Linked DNA regions of Homo sapiens: regions 1, 2, 3 and 4 are each linked to region 5. Evidence: promoter capture Hi-C in human tissues and cell types (Jung and others, 2019). All regions are on one chromosome and are shown on one strand. The core of a region is centred on a gene start or on the middle of the fragment in contact, and the rest is flanking DNA. Distances in the headings are between cores, read along the strand shown.

The links. The method cuts DNA at HindIII sites, captures the fragments that hold promoters and counts their contacts. A contact is called where the count stands out against the background at its distance.
Region 1: a fragment that was not itself captured here is called in contact with the fragment with the promoter of SIGLEC1 in region 5 in 1 of the 25 tissues and cell types used here (spleen).
Region 2: a fragment that was not itself captured here is called in contact with the fragment with the promoter of SIGLEC1 in region 5 in 1 of the 25 tissues and cell types used here (thymus).
Region 3: a contact is called between a fragment that was not itself captured here and the fragment with the promoter of SIGLEC1 in region 5, in 1 of the 25 tissues and cell types used here (hippocampus).
Region 4: a fragment that was not itself captured here is called in contact with the fragment with the promoter of SIGLEC1 in region 5 in 1 of the 25 tissues and cell types used here (dorsolateral prefrontal cortex).

What each region holds. Positions count from the first base shown.
Region 1 is chr20:4,210,112-4,212,811 of GRCh38, forward strand. No RefSeq gene overlaps it. Among named protein-coding and RNA genes, the nearest start is that of LINC01433, 18 kb to the left of the region's middle. The HindIII fragment of the contact is 8,948 bases long and covers 1-2,700 here.
Region 2 is chr20:4,020,003-4,022,702 of GRCh38, forward strand. No RefSeq gene overlaps it. Among named protein-coding and RNA genes, the nearest start is that of RNF24, 5.8 kb to the left of the region's middle. The HindIII fragment of the contact is 4,326 bases long and covers 1-2,700 here.
Region 3 is chr20:3,307,415-3,310,114 of GRCh38, forward strand. All of the region lies in intron 20 of DNAAF9 (dynein axonemal assembly factor 9), which reads right to left. Among named protein-coding and RNA genes, the nearest start is that of SLC4A11, 70 kb to the left of the region's middle. The HindIII fragment of the contact is 8,715 bases long and covers 1-2,700 here.
Region 4 is chr20:3,323,584-3,326,283 of GRCh38, forward strand. DNAAF9 (dynein axonemal assembly factor 9) reads right to left here. Exons shown (of 37, transcript NM_001009984.3): 13 at 2,614-2,700; 14 at 1,309-1,385. Among named protein-coding and RNA genes, the nearest start is that of DNAAF9, 83 kb to the right of the region's middle. The HindIII fragment of the contact is 9,834 bases long and covers 1-2,700 here.
Region 5 is chr20:3,711,333-3,714,032 of GRCh38, forward strand. SIGLEC1 (sialic acid binding Ig like lectin 1) reads right to left here and starts at 1,268. Exons shown (of 22, transcript NM_023068.4): 1 at 1,138-1,268. The HindIII fragment of the contact is 16,568 bases long and covers 1-2,700 here.

The DNA.
Region 1 (2,700 bases), core at 68-2,567, 500 kb after region 5:
TGGTGAAACACCGTCACTACTAGAAATACGACAAAATAGCTGGGTGTGGTGGCGTGCACCTGTAGTCCCAGCTACTTGGGAGACTGAGGCAGGAGAATCGCTTGAACCCAGGAGGCGGAGGTTGCAGTGAGCCGAGATCGTGCCTCTGCACTCCAGCCTGGGTGACAGAACGAGACTCCATGTCAAAAAAAAAAAAAAAAAAGAGATTCAGAGACTCAGAAATGTGATGTCCAGACTGCCTGCCAGAAGTGTATCCACCCTCAGAATATGAATCCTGCCCTCCCAGTTATACCTTGCTTATCTACATGGGGAAGTTATCCCAGATATTATATCAACTGTCCCTGCCTGTGGTCCACCTTAATTTAGGAACCCTTGCTGGCTGAAAGGAGGCCAACACTCATCAGTTGTAGAGTCCAGGTCCCTTAGGATATTCCTGGGCTGGTCATGAGTTGCACCCTGGGGTCTCCTGGTTGGTGGCTAGAGAAGGGTAGAAGGAAATTTTGCCAGAAGAGCCAGTCCTCTTGTGATGCACTGGAAAATTTTTGGCAAATATTCAGTCACTTTCCTCTCCTTGGAGCAGAGTATATTTCCCTGCCCCATTGGCTTTGGGCTTGGCCATATGACTTGCTTTGGCCAGTGAAATGTGGATAGATGATGTGTTAGGAACAGAAGCTCTAAAGCTTCACGTATTTGTCATTAATCATGGGAAGAATATGCCCCAGACAGCGGATGGTTCAAGGAGAATACAGAGAAAAGGGGAATGGATTTGAGCCATAAAAGCCTAGAACCAACACTAGAATCTGCAGACAGAGACCTAAGCAAGAAAAATAAATGCTTGCTATTGTAACCTGTGAATTAAGGGGTGGCTTGTTTTGTAGCATTACTGTGGCTATAGCTGACTAATACACCTTTCTTTAGGGGAGTCATCCAGGCCAAGAGGGAGCTTTCTGGGCACTGGTGATGATATGTGCCGTGGATCCACAGAATGGGAAGCTACCCTTACTGCGACTCAGGTCCAGCAAAGGGGCCTGGCAGGAATAGGTCAAGGGCTTCAGGGCCCTGGGGAGGATGCATTTCATGGCTTGATTCCAGCCCAAGGGGCTGTAGGGAATAGAAGCCAGTGGGCATTCTTTTAGTTCTAATCTATGAGATTGAGGAAAGATCTTCTGTTCCCACTGCCCAATTCTTGGCTGATGAGGAAGAATTTTATTCTAAATATTCAGAGCTAGCTGGGAGCGGTAGCACGCACCTGTAGTCCCAGCTACTCAGGAGGCTGAAGCAAGAGGATGGCTTGAACCCAGGAGTCCAGCCTGGCAACATAGTGAGACACTGTCTCTAAAAAAATAGATACATAAAAAAATTAAAAATAATTCAGAGCTGCTGGCTACTTCTCTTCCATCAGATGAAGACCTGAAAAACTGTGGTGTCTTACCCTGCTCTCAAGATCCCTTCTGATTCCCAACCCACAAACTGGTACAGTCCAGTGGGCATGAAGTGTTCACTGGATGTAGAAAGTTCCTGAAAGGGGCTGGGTTTGGTGGCTCACACCTGCTATCCCAGCACCTTGGGAGGCTGAGATGAGAGGATCACTTGAGGCCAGGAGTTCAAGACCAGCCTGGGAAACATAGTGAGGCCCTGTCTCTACAAAAATTTAAAAATGAGCAGGGCATGGTGGCATGCACCTGTAGTCCCAGCTACTGGGGAGCCTGAGGTGAGAGAATCGCTTGAGCCCAGGAGTTCAAGGCTGCTGTGAGCTATGATCACACCACTGCACTCTAGCTTGGGCAACAGAGCAAGACCCTATCTCCCACAAACAAATAAACAACAAAAAAGAAAGTTCCTGAAGGGGATCAGGAGAATGGAGGATCACGACTGTGTCCTCAGCTACTCAGAAAGCAATGTGTGGGCAGCAGGACAGTGGCTGGAGGTTTGATGATTGGATGGACTCTTCTTGGAGTTAAGGGTGGGGTATATGCATTGGAGAGGGCTGAGCCTTTTCCTTCCCCACCTCTGGCCAGGGGTGCCTTTGATGCACAGGGTAACACTCTGGCAAGAGCTCTGAGTCTTTTAATTCAGCTTTGTTAACTCTGGAGTCCCAACTGTTTGCAGATGGCTGGCTGATATCCTCATTTTTAAAGACCTGCTTTGAATTTTTATCCTCTTTTCAGCTCTTCATTGGTATTTTAAGGGGAGAGGTCTTATAAAGGACTTCAATACCAAGTTGAGTTGGTCGTGTCTGTGTTTGATTAAAAAAAAATTGGCTGGGTGCAGTGCCTCACGCCTGTAATCCCAGTACTTTGGGAGGCCTAGGCAGGTGGATCACCTGAGTTTGGGAGTTTGAGACCAGCCTGACCAACATGTAGAAACCCCGTTTCTACTAAAAATACAAAAAAATTAGCTGAGCGTGGTGGCAGGCACTTGTAATCCCAGCTACCTGGGAGCCTGAGGCAGGGGAATCGCTTGAACCCAGGAGGCGGAGGTTGTGGCGAGATCATGCCATTGCACTCCAGCCTGGGTAACAAGAGCGAAACTCCGTCTCAGAAAAAAAAAAAAAAAAAAAAGAAATGTCCTGAGGGCTCCTAATAAGGCAGGCAGTTCTAGAGGGTAGCTTGGGAAGGGGATGCTAAGTATGGGTTGAGTGCGTGGGAATGCTAGCGTAGCTCCAAAATCTTCATCTCCAGAATCTCTCCACCTGTTCTC
Region 2 (2,700 bases), core at 13-2,512, 310 kb after region 5:
ACGGAGGGGTGGAATTGCTTCTTCTTTTTTTTTTTTTAGATGAAGTCTCTCTGTCGCCCAGGCTAGAGTGCAGTGGTGCAATCTTGGCTCACTGTAACCTCCGCCTCCTGGGTTCAAGTGATTCTCCTGCCTCAGCCTCCCGAGTAGTTGGGATTACAGGCACCTGCCACTGCGCCCAGCTAATTTTTGTATTTTTAGAAGAGACAGGGTTTCACCATCTTGGCCAGGCTGGTCTCGAACTCCTGACCTCAAGATCCACCCGCCTCGGCCTCCCAAAGTGCTGGAATTACAGGCATGAGCCACCGGAATTGCTTCTTAATGCAGAATGTGTGTGCAAGACTGTGAAACAGCAAGAGTTGGGGAGAAAGCGTAGGTTTCTGTGTGCATGGTACCTTTAGGACTGGCTGTGTGTCCACCCACAAGCCAGCGAAGGAGGTGGGAACCTGGGATTCTGTTTACCCAGCCACCAACAAGCCCCGTTGCCTTTCTGGCACACACAAGCCCAATCACCCAGAACTCCTGAAAATATAAATGTTCTCAAGATCTCATGTGGGAGCTTTTTAGCTGAGACCAGCCACACATGCAGGAGACTGGAAGCACTATTTCCCAGGGGTGGAACAACCTGCTCAGACTCACTTTTAGATTGGAGGATACCCATCTCAGCGTGGATTCTCCCAAGAACAGATCTTAAGACAAGGGCTTGGATGTAGGTAATTTACTTGGGAGGTGATTCCAGGAAATAAGAGTGAAGAAATGGGGAAAGCAAGCTGTGAAAGGGAGAGAAGCCAACAGTAAGGTATGCTGATGGGCCAGTTACTGCCATGGGCAACTGAGGCTCAGTCTGGCTTGGCGTCCACTGAGAAACCTTGTAGAACAGCCCTCAGCATTGTCTGCCTGGATGACCAGGAGGCCAGAGTATTTCTCCACTGACTTCAGTGTCTTGGTTGCTTTTCTTTTCTTTTTTTTTTTGAGACGGAGTTTCGCTCTTGTTGCCCAGGCAGGAGTGCAGTGGCATGATCTCAGCTCACTGCAACCTCCGCCTCCCGGGTTCAAGAGATTCTCCTGCCTCAGCCTCTCAGGTAGCTGGGATTACAGGCATGCGCCACCATGCCTGGCTAATTTTGTATTTTTTTAGTAGAGACGGGGTTTCTCCATGTTGGTCAGGCTGGTCTTGAACTCCCGACCTCACGTGATCCACCTGCCTTGGCCTCCCAAAGTGCTGGGATTACAGGCATGAGCCACCGCGCCTGGCCCTCTTTTCTTTTCTTTTCTTTTTTTGAGACAGAGTCTCACTCTTGTCACCCAGGCTGGAGTGCAGTGGCGCCATCTAGACTCATTGCAACCTCTGCCTCCTGGTTGTTCAAGTGATTCTTGTGCCTCAGCCTCCTGAATAGTTGGGATTACAGGCGTGTGCCACCATGCCCAGCTAAATTTTGTATTCTTAGTAGAGACAGGGTTTTGCCATGTTGGCCAGGCTGGTCTCAAAATCCTGGCCTTGAGTGATCTGCCCAGCTCAGCCTCCCAGAGGGTACTTTCAAGTTACATCTATGGAACAAAGCAAGCCGCTCTGCTAAGCTCCTCCAGTTATTGATTACACAACCCCCACAGCTGTGACCACCATTTGGCTACCACCATCATCACAGCTTCTGCCCCTCCAATTTCCCCCAGCCAATTATATCACTGCCTTTTCTCTCTGCTAGGTTCTGTTAGGCCTGAGCTTTAAAGAGAAAGGAATAAAGTGGAATGATATATCTTTGCCCATAACTCATTCTAGGAAAAAGGAACTATGCTGGTTTTCTTTTTCCTCCATTTCAACCTATCCAATCTACCCAAATAGTTCCCAATCATTATCACCTCATCCCAAAGCAACAGACGGGAAAGAGGAACAGGGCAAGAAAGCAGACAGGCTTTCTGGAGTGACTTTTATCCCCACAGAGTCATAGATGCAGAGTTGGAAGAGATGAATTCTCTCATTTGGGAGATAAGGACACCATGCAGATAAAGAGACTCTGTATCTTCTGCTTTTCCTGCTGCTGCAGTGCTTCCTCCAGGCAGGCTTCCTTAGTTTTTCTTGGCTTCCTACCCTTCCAACCTACGCCATCATAATCTGGACTCCAGCCCTTTATTCCCTCAAAGGCTGACTCAGGCCATGACTGAGGGAAGAAGCTTGGATTCTGTAGTGGAACAGCATTGTCCATGGGGAGACACGGCTTCCATCCCAGGCCTTTGGTTCCATTACTTAGTTTCTCACTTGCCTGTCTGTCATCCAAAGGGGCTCACAAGGAGGGGAATGCAGGGAGGAGACATCTCCCTAATACCATTGGAGTTTTTTTCCAGGTTAAGATGGTGCATTGAATCCACCCATCTACTTTTGCTCCTCCCAAAACTCACTAAAACTATTATAAAGGGATTTTGTTTAAAGACACAAACTCATGAGGACAGAGAGAACAGAGTAGACAATAGTGGGGGAAAAATAAGTTGGAAGATAGAAAACAGATGGGTGAGTGGTAATCGACTCAGCAGCCCCAAGAAAGCTGAAACCCAGGGAAAGTTAAGAGTAGCCCTATTTTCATGGCAAAATCCAAGGGGGGGTGGGGAAAGAAAGAAAAACAGAAAAAAAAATGGGAATTGGCAGTCCTAGATATCTCTGGTACTGGGCAAGCCAAAGAATCAGGATAACTGGGTGAAAGGTGATTGGGA
Region 3 (2,700 bases), core at 168-2,667, 400 kb before region 5:
CCCAGTGCCTGTGCTCTGGTCTCAGATCCTCATCTGCTTGAAGCAATAACCCTTCTGGTATCTGCTCTGGACTCTTGACTGTCAGACAGTGGTCTGAGGGCCATACCTTTGCAGGGGTTCACAGGGGCCAGGGCAGCCAACTCCTGAGGAGATCTCCCTGACTCTTTGTGCCATCCTTGGTGTCCTTAGTGGATGAACTCTGTCCTTCCTTCTCCATTCTGTAAGTCTGAAAACCCAGGATAAGAGGAAGTTTCCCATTATTGTCCCAAAACCAGGAGGACTGCAGTTTGGTTGTCTTTGATTGAGCTCTGTATCCCTGGAAGTCCAACAAAAGAGGGATGGGCCCTCAGGGTAAACCAAAATACCAAGCAAATGCCAAAGAAGAATTTCGCTTTCCTCTTTCAGAAAACTGGCTGTACAAATAAAAATCTTCCAACAGCCCAGTCTATGTGAGGAGGGAACATTTATCACTGCTGGGGAAATTTATGATGCAATGGCTAGATGATTTTCATCCTGTGTCTATAAATGTGTGTGAAATGTACACACAAGGTTTAAAAAAAAAAAAAAAAAAAAACTAAAGCAACAACTACAAAACCCAGATGTCTATGAACTCACCACTGGGCCTAAGAAATTGAGCATTACTAGCACCGTTGAAACCCCCTGGATGTCCTTCCTCAATGAGAGCCCTTCTCTTCCACCCAGGGGGAACAGCATCCTGAATTCTGGATGGTTTTACCACACTTGAATGTATTTGTAAACTGTGTATTACTTAGTTTTGTCTGTGTTTTTATATAAATGAAATCCTAATCATGTATTCTTCTGTGACTTGCTTACTTCTCCTGACATTCTGTTCCTGAATGTGACCTATGTTACAAGTAATATGCAGCTATACAGTTCCTTCATGCTCAGTGCTGTACAAAACTTTACTTTTTTTTTTTTTTTTTTTGAGATGGAGTCTCACTCTGTTGCCTTGGCTGGAGTGCAGTGGTGCCATCTCTGCTCACTGCAATCTCCGCCTCCCAGGTTCAAGTGATTCTTGTGCCTCAGCCTCCCAAGTAGCTGGGATTACAGGCATGCGCCACCACGGTCCAGCTAATTTTTGTATTTTTAGTAGAGATGGGGTTTCACCACGCTGGCCAGGCTAGTCTCGAACTCCTGACCTCAGGTGACCTGCCCGCCTCGGCCTTCCAAAGTGCTGGGATTACAGGTGTGAGCCACCGTGCCAGACCAAAACCTTCATTTTTAAAGTGTCCCTCCAGCCAGGTGCGGTGGCTCCCTCCAGCCAGGTACAGTGGCTCACGCCTGTAATCCCAGCACTTTGGGAGACTGAGGTGGGAGCTTCACGTGAGGCCTGGAGTTTGAGACCAGCCTAGCCAACATGGTGAAACTCCATCTCTACTAAAAAAAAAAAAAAATTAGCCAGGTGTGGTGCCACATGCCCACATGACTCCTCCTCCATGCATACATGGTAGGGGCTAAGCTCTCTGGTAGCTCTTATAAGGGCACCACATCCCAACAGACCTTGTCCCACATTCATGACCTCATCTAACCCCTATTTCCTTCCAAAAGCCCCATCTCCAGATAACATCACTTTTGGGGTTAAGGCTTCAACACTGGAATTTTGGAGAGGACACAAACATTCAGTCTCTAATGTGATAAGGCAAGTTCCCACCTTGTTTTTCTTCTTCAGGAGTATCTTGGCTGTTCTTAGCACTTTGCTCAAAGTTATTGACATTTTTATGTTGGCTTTTCAGGATTTTCAAAAAACTTGTTGGTTTTTTTTTTCCTGAAATTATGTTAAATTTAAAGATCACTTTGGAGAGAATTGTCATTTTTACCATGTCAAGTAAGTAAACCTGAGTTTTCCAGTCCATGAATGGGATGTGTGTTTATGTCATTTTTAATGCCTTTTAGTATAGTGTTATAATTTTCTCAGCCTCCAGACTGTGAGAAATAAATTCCTACTGTTAATCCACTCACTCTGTGGTATTTTGTTATGGCATCCCAAGCAGACTAAGTCACCATATAGAAATATGTTATCTATCTAAAATAAGACAATGTGTTATTTTCTTTCCCAATGGAACAGAACAGAGAGCCTATTAATAGATGCACACATAAAGAGACTTGATTTATAACAAAGCTGGCACTGCCGATCAGTGGGAAAACAATGATTTTTCAATAACTTTGCTGAGACAGGTGGCTACCTACATTTAAAAAATGAACTTAGACTTCTATCTCATATCACTTTCACAGAGCAATCCAGGTGGATTCTTTGAAAAATTATATTTTTATAATTCAACAGAAAAGTCTCAATAGATCTAAAATATATGAATCACATAGGAAATGATTAATTATCCTGATTACATTAAAACTAAGAACTTTTATTCATGAAAAAGCATCAGAAATAAAATAAAAAGACAAGCCACCAGGTGAAAGAAAATATTTGCAATATACTGAATTGACAAAGAATTAGTATCCAAAATCTATAAAGAATTCCTGGCTGGGCGCAGTGGCTCACGTGTAATCCCAGAACTTTGGGAGGCTGTGGCAGGCAGATCACCTGAAGTCGGGAGATTGAGACCAGCCTGACCGACATAGAGAAACCCTACCTCTACTAAAAACACAAAATTAGCCGGGCATGGTGGTGCATGTCTGTAATCCCAGCTACTCGGGAGGCTGAGGCAGGGGAATCGCTTAAAC
Region 4 (2,700 bases), core at 166-2,665, 390 kb before region 5:
AGTGAAGCAATCTTTGTGGTGAGAAAGGGGAGGGGCTCTAGGTGGAAGACTGGCCTGGGGGACTTTTCTCCCATTGACTGGTGTTTTCTTCTTGTGCCTTTCTCCAGCTAGGGCAGACACCTAGGCCTAGGAGGCCTTGGGACTGAGAGGGGGCCTGCTCTGGGGAGGCTGAGTGGCCTAGGCAAGGGCCCAAGTAAAGGAGAAGTAGAATGACTATGCCAGCCATATTGATGGTAAGAGAATACCCCACTGTGACAGCAGCTAACATCTATGTGCCCAACTGCTTTACAAGGTGGGTAGCTGAAGGAGCAGATACAGACAGTTCCTATCTTGCCCAAGGTCACACAGATGCAAACTGAAGAAGCGTTCTCAAATTCAGGTTGGCCAGAAACAGATAGCACAGGGCAGCACAAGGTCTTAAGGGAACAAACTTCCTTTATCCTTTCCCTTTCATGGCCAGGGCAGCAAGATCCAGAAGACCCAGGGGAAAGAAGACCTGAAGCAAGTCTAAAGCCCTGCACCACAGAGTTCTGGCTCTTTCTTCCACTCCTGGGGCTGCAGAAATAGAATTCTTTTTGTTAGACCAATTAATTGACTAATCTTTCAAATACTCTCTCTTATTACACAGGACTATAGATTTAAGAAAATGTGGGACATAGACCTGAGGCATCACAGGACACATCCTAGAAGTATTCTTAAATAAATTCCCCAGTATTGGTGTCTTTTGTATCCTTTGTATAAAAGTGCACATAATGGTCCTCACGTGAAACAGTGGTTAAGTGGACTGGGTTCATGAAGATTTAGCTATGGATAACAACCACCGTGACATGCTGGGAGATGTGATGGAAAAATCACCAGATTCTCAGATGATGCAGACCCCAGGACACGGCCAGGCTCAGGGTTTCTGTCATTCAAGAGACAGATGAGGCCCAGTGCAAGTTTCTTCTAAGCAGTGACTATCTTCCTGTGCCCAGGGCCCTCTGCCCCTAGAAACCTCACCATTCAGGTACCCAGCTTTGCCTTTCTAGCCTTGGAACCCAGGCTTGTCAAATCTCCTGTGATGCTGGTGTTAATCTGCCCTGCATTCTAACCTCAGAACATGTGTGTGACTTTCTCAAACAGTTCCTGCATCTTTGGCTCTTTGGCTTCTAAGTGAAGGCTGAATCATGAATGATTCTCCTTCACACATCCCATTATTTTACTGAAACATTTCTCAAAGGGGAGATGAAATCTAAATTATAAGGGAAAAAAGAATATTCCAAAACGAAGAAAAAAAATTCCTTATAAAAAATATCAGCCATTGCTTACCGCAGGGCTGCCTTAAACGGAATCAACTCAAAGGAATCTAACCCAGATCCCAGAGTTTGCTCTGCTACCTCCTTGGCCTGTAAAATAATAAGACAGCGACAATTAGCTTTCACAGCAGGAAAAAGTACACATATCACTGATGGAAGGGCCCTCCTAACACTTGTCCAGGATCACACCATGCCCTACAGTGTGTCCTTCCCATCTATGTGACTACTTGGTAGGCATGAATAGATTAAAGTGAAAGTATCATGTTAAGGGAAAGAAGGGCCTGCTTTCTCCAGGCTAGGTTTACAGGACAAAACTGCATTCAGGCAGGTGTGCACTGGAACCTGACGTGCTGGATCCAGAGAAGTGACCAGCTGTGATGACAGCAGTGGAATGTGAGGTCTGTAAAAGTGCTTTCTCCTCCCCTCTTCCTTGGCTCTTGGGAAGGAACCTCTGCCCTCAGAGTTTTAGCCAGATGCTAAGAATATCCAAATAGCAAGAGTTACAAAAGATCAGTTAAAAAACAAAGATGTGAGAACTGATATTGAAGGACACCCCACTGCTTTGGATAAGCCTTCTGCATGTAGTGGCTAAAGGGCTGAGAAATCCGGAGTCAGTACCAGGGATACAAGTTCAGTGAGGAGGGGAGATGGCAAGGAGCTGGTGACTACAGCTACAGTCTCTCTGATATCTACATCATACACAACCTTTCCAATGTCAAATGGCTTCCTTCAGAAAAGGTCCTATTGGCATTTGGGAGGCATCAAGCTGACTCTTCTCATCTCCTTACTGGGTCAGATATAGGAATCCAACTCAGCAGGGCAGGTTAACCGCAAAACAGCAAGGAAGATAATGGTCAGAGAACGGGAACACATGTGCTTGTCTAGGAAAAGCAAGTCAGATTTTCTAATCTTTAGCTATTTTTTTTAAACACTGAGTTATAGGAAATCAAACTTACCAAACTTTATTAGATTTCACAGTAGAATAATCTAAAGTTGTCTTTTTGGTTTTTTTTTTTTAGCTTTTAAAAGACTTTTGTTTAAGCTATTCAACAAAACAATGTGCTACAGAATGATTTTTCCTTAACACAACCAGATGTCTACAAAGAAGCACCGATTAGTTGTCATCCATAAGACAACAGCAGCACAGTCACAGGCAGCAGAAGCTCAGTGCTCTCAGGGCTTCTCTCTGCCTGGTGTCAAAGAGGCCCAAGCTCGCACAAAAGTGAGTACTACAAGATGTCCAAAGAAGAAACACATGGATAGAATGTTTTACATTAAAATAATAATTACAGAAAGGGAAACATGGTATTTAAATTACCTTTGTTAGACTGGAAGTTTTAGCATAACATGCAATGCCAGCCAAAACAGCCTCAATAACAGCAGCATATATCTGGGACAATAGCCT
Region 5 (2,700 bases), core at 18-2,517:
CACTCACGTTTGCTGCCTGTTTGAGACCAAGTGCCTCAGGAGGTCTTGGAGGGTTGGCTGGGGCCCCAAGTCCCTGACCTCTGATTCCAGAGGCCAAGTTTAGCTGGGGAAGAAAGGGCAGAGGCAGTTTCCCTATGGACAGCTAGGCCCGGGTGTAGGATTCAGTTTCTGTTTCCTGACACCAAGGCTTCTCCCCAACTTCCCCATTGGGCTAGAGAAGGAAGAACACAGGGTGACATGGCCAGCTGGAGGTTACTGGCCCACAGATAGGGAGTCAGGGTACGGATGGGCAATTCCTGGAGCAGATTATGGTCAAAATAGTGGAAATCCCCAATCACAGGCCAAATGTTTAATTCTCAGAGCCATAGAATCCATAACTAATGCTTATTGGCTTTGACATGGGCAGTAGAAATTTCACACTTCATTCCTTAATCTGGCTCTAAATGCTTCTGGCTGGAGTGCTCACTCTCCAAACTGTGCTGGACAGCACCAGAAGCCCTCCTGTGGACGGACGAAGTGGTGATGGATGAAGTGGAATTGTGCTGGGGTTAGAGTAAGGAGAGATTATCGTTGGGCTGGGCTGGGGCTGAGGTCAGGGTGATGATCAGGTTGGAATTCTGGAAGCAAATTAAGGCTGGGATTGGGGTGGACATTGAGGTTGAGTGATGGGTGGGGGTAAGGGTGAAGGTTGGAGTTGGGTGCAGGTGATGGTTAAGATACGGTGGAGGCTGGGTTGAGATGAGGATGATAGAGTCGGAGTTGTGGTTAGGGTTGGGATGATGGATGGTTGGGATTAGATGAGATGAGTAAATGGTTAGGGTTGGGGTGCAAGTGAGGTGAGGGTGAGATAAGGTTGGAATAGGGGCTGGGGCTGGGGCTGAGGTAGGGTCAGAGCAGGGTGATGGTCGGGACTGGGATTGGGATGCAGGTTGGAAGGATTTGGGGGTGGTGGAAGGGTTTCAGTTGAGTCCATCTTTGATTAGTGTCTTGGACTTGGGTTGGTTTGGGGTCCACCACTCGCACCCAGATGGAGCCCCCCCCCGACCCCTGCCCCTATCCCGCTCAGCCAGTTTCAGCCCAGCCCCGCTCCTAATGCTCCACTCACCCTCTGGGCCCAGGGACCAGGGACAGGGGTACCTGCTCCACAGAAGGAAGTGGCTGCGGCGGTGCTGGACCTGCGGAGAGGAGAACAGGAAGGACGGCCAAGAGCTCCTGGTGCAGCTGGCTCCCCAGGGCTCTGCCGGCTCAAGAGAGAAGGATCCCGTATCAGGGGCTGCTTCCTCTTTCCCAAAGCCTCAGCTCTACTGTCCAACCCAGAGGCTGGTCAGGGAGGCAGCTGCAGGCCTTGCGCAATGCCAAAACGGGAAAGACCTCCATAGGGGAAGGCCCTCGGCAAGGCCAGGGACTTAGGGACTCCAGCAAGCAGAAGTGGGACCGCTGCAACGCTGGAGCCTCCCCAGGCAAAGTGAGAAATGGAGTGGGGGACTCCCATTCACCAGCCAAATCCACACCCCACTCTCTCTGAGCCCCTTAGGGAGGCTGGGGGAGGTGGAAGGGGGCTTCCTGCACACAGCTCTCCTCCCTGACACCTGAGAGGGAGGCGCGCCCAGCCTGGGGTGGGGATGCACTACACGATGCCCAGACCAAGGCAGTTATTCTCCAAGCCATTCAGGAGCCTCCCTGTACCACTGAGTACTCTTAAGAACCCCCAAGAGGCAGTCCCGTGTTGTGGGGGACATAAGGCCCCAATGTCCAGGACACTCCTCAGGTTTTCTCTTTCCCCTCTCACTGTCCTGTACGTTTTTTGGTTTTTGGCTTCTTGTTGTTGGTTTTTTTCTTTTTGTTTTGTTTTTGCTTTTGAGATGGAGTCTCACTCTGTCGTCCAGGCTGGAGTGCGGTGGCACAATCTCAGCTCACGGCAACCTCCACCTCCCGAGTTCAAGTGATCATCTTGCCTCAGCCTCTCGAGTAGCTGGGATTACAGGCATGCACCACCACATCCGGCTAATTTTTGTATTTTTGGTAGAGACGGGGTTTCACCATGTTGTCCAGGTTGGTCTTGAACTCCTGACCCCAAGTAATCTGCCTGCCTCGGCCTCCCAAAGTTCTGGGATTACAGAGGTGAGCCGCTGCACCCGGCCACTATCCTATACCTTCACCCCCACCTTGGGACAGGAAAGGAAAGCCCCCACCACAGCTAGTTACTGTTACATTACTGCAGCCCATCTTATTGAGGGCCTAGTTTGTGCAGGCACTTGACATGTGAAGCAGATGTTAATTGCTCCAAGCAATCCCAGATACAAGCAACAAGACTTTTTTTGGTTTTTGTTTGTTTGTTTGTTTTTGTTTTTTGAGACAGTGTCTTGCTCTGTCGCCCAGGCTGGGGTGTCCTGGTGCAATCTTGGCTCACTTTGGCTCACTGCAGCTTCGAAATTCTAGGCTTAAGCAATCCTCCTGCTTCAGCCTCCTAAGAAGCCGGGATTACAGGCGCTTGCCACTATGCACGGCTAATTTTTTAAGTTATTTTGTAGAGACGGAGTCTCCCTATGTTCCCAGGCTGGTCTCAAACACCTGGGCTCAAGTGACTCTCCCACCTCGACCTCCCAAAGTGCTGGAACTACAGGCGTAAGCCACCACTCCTGGCCATTTTTTTTTTTAATTTCACAACTCAAACTTAATTCAACTCAGTCCCTGCCTACC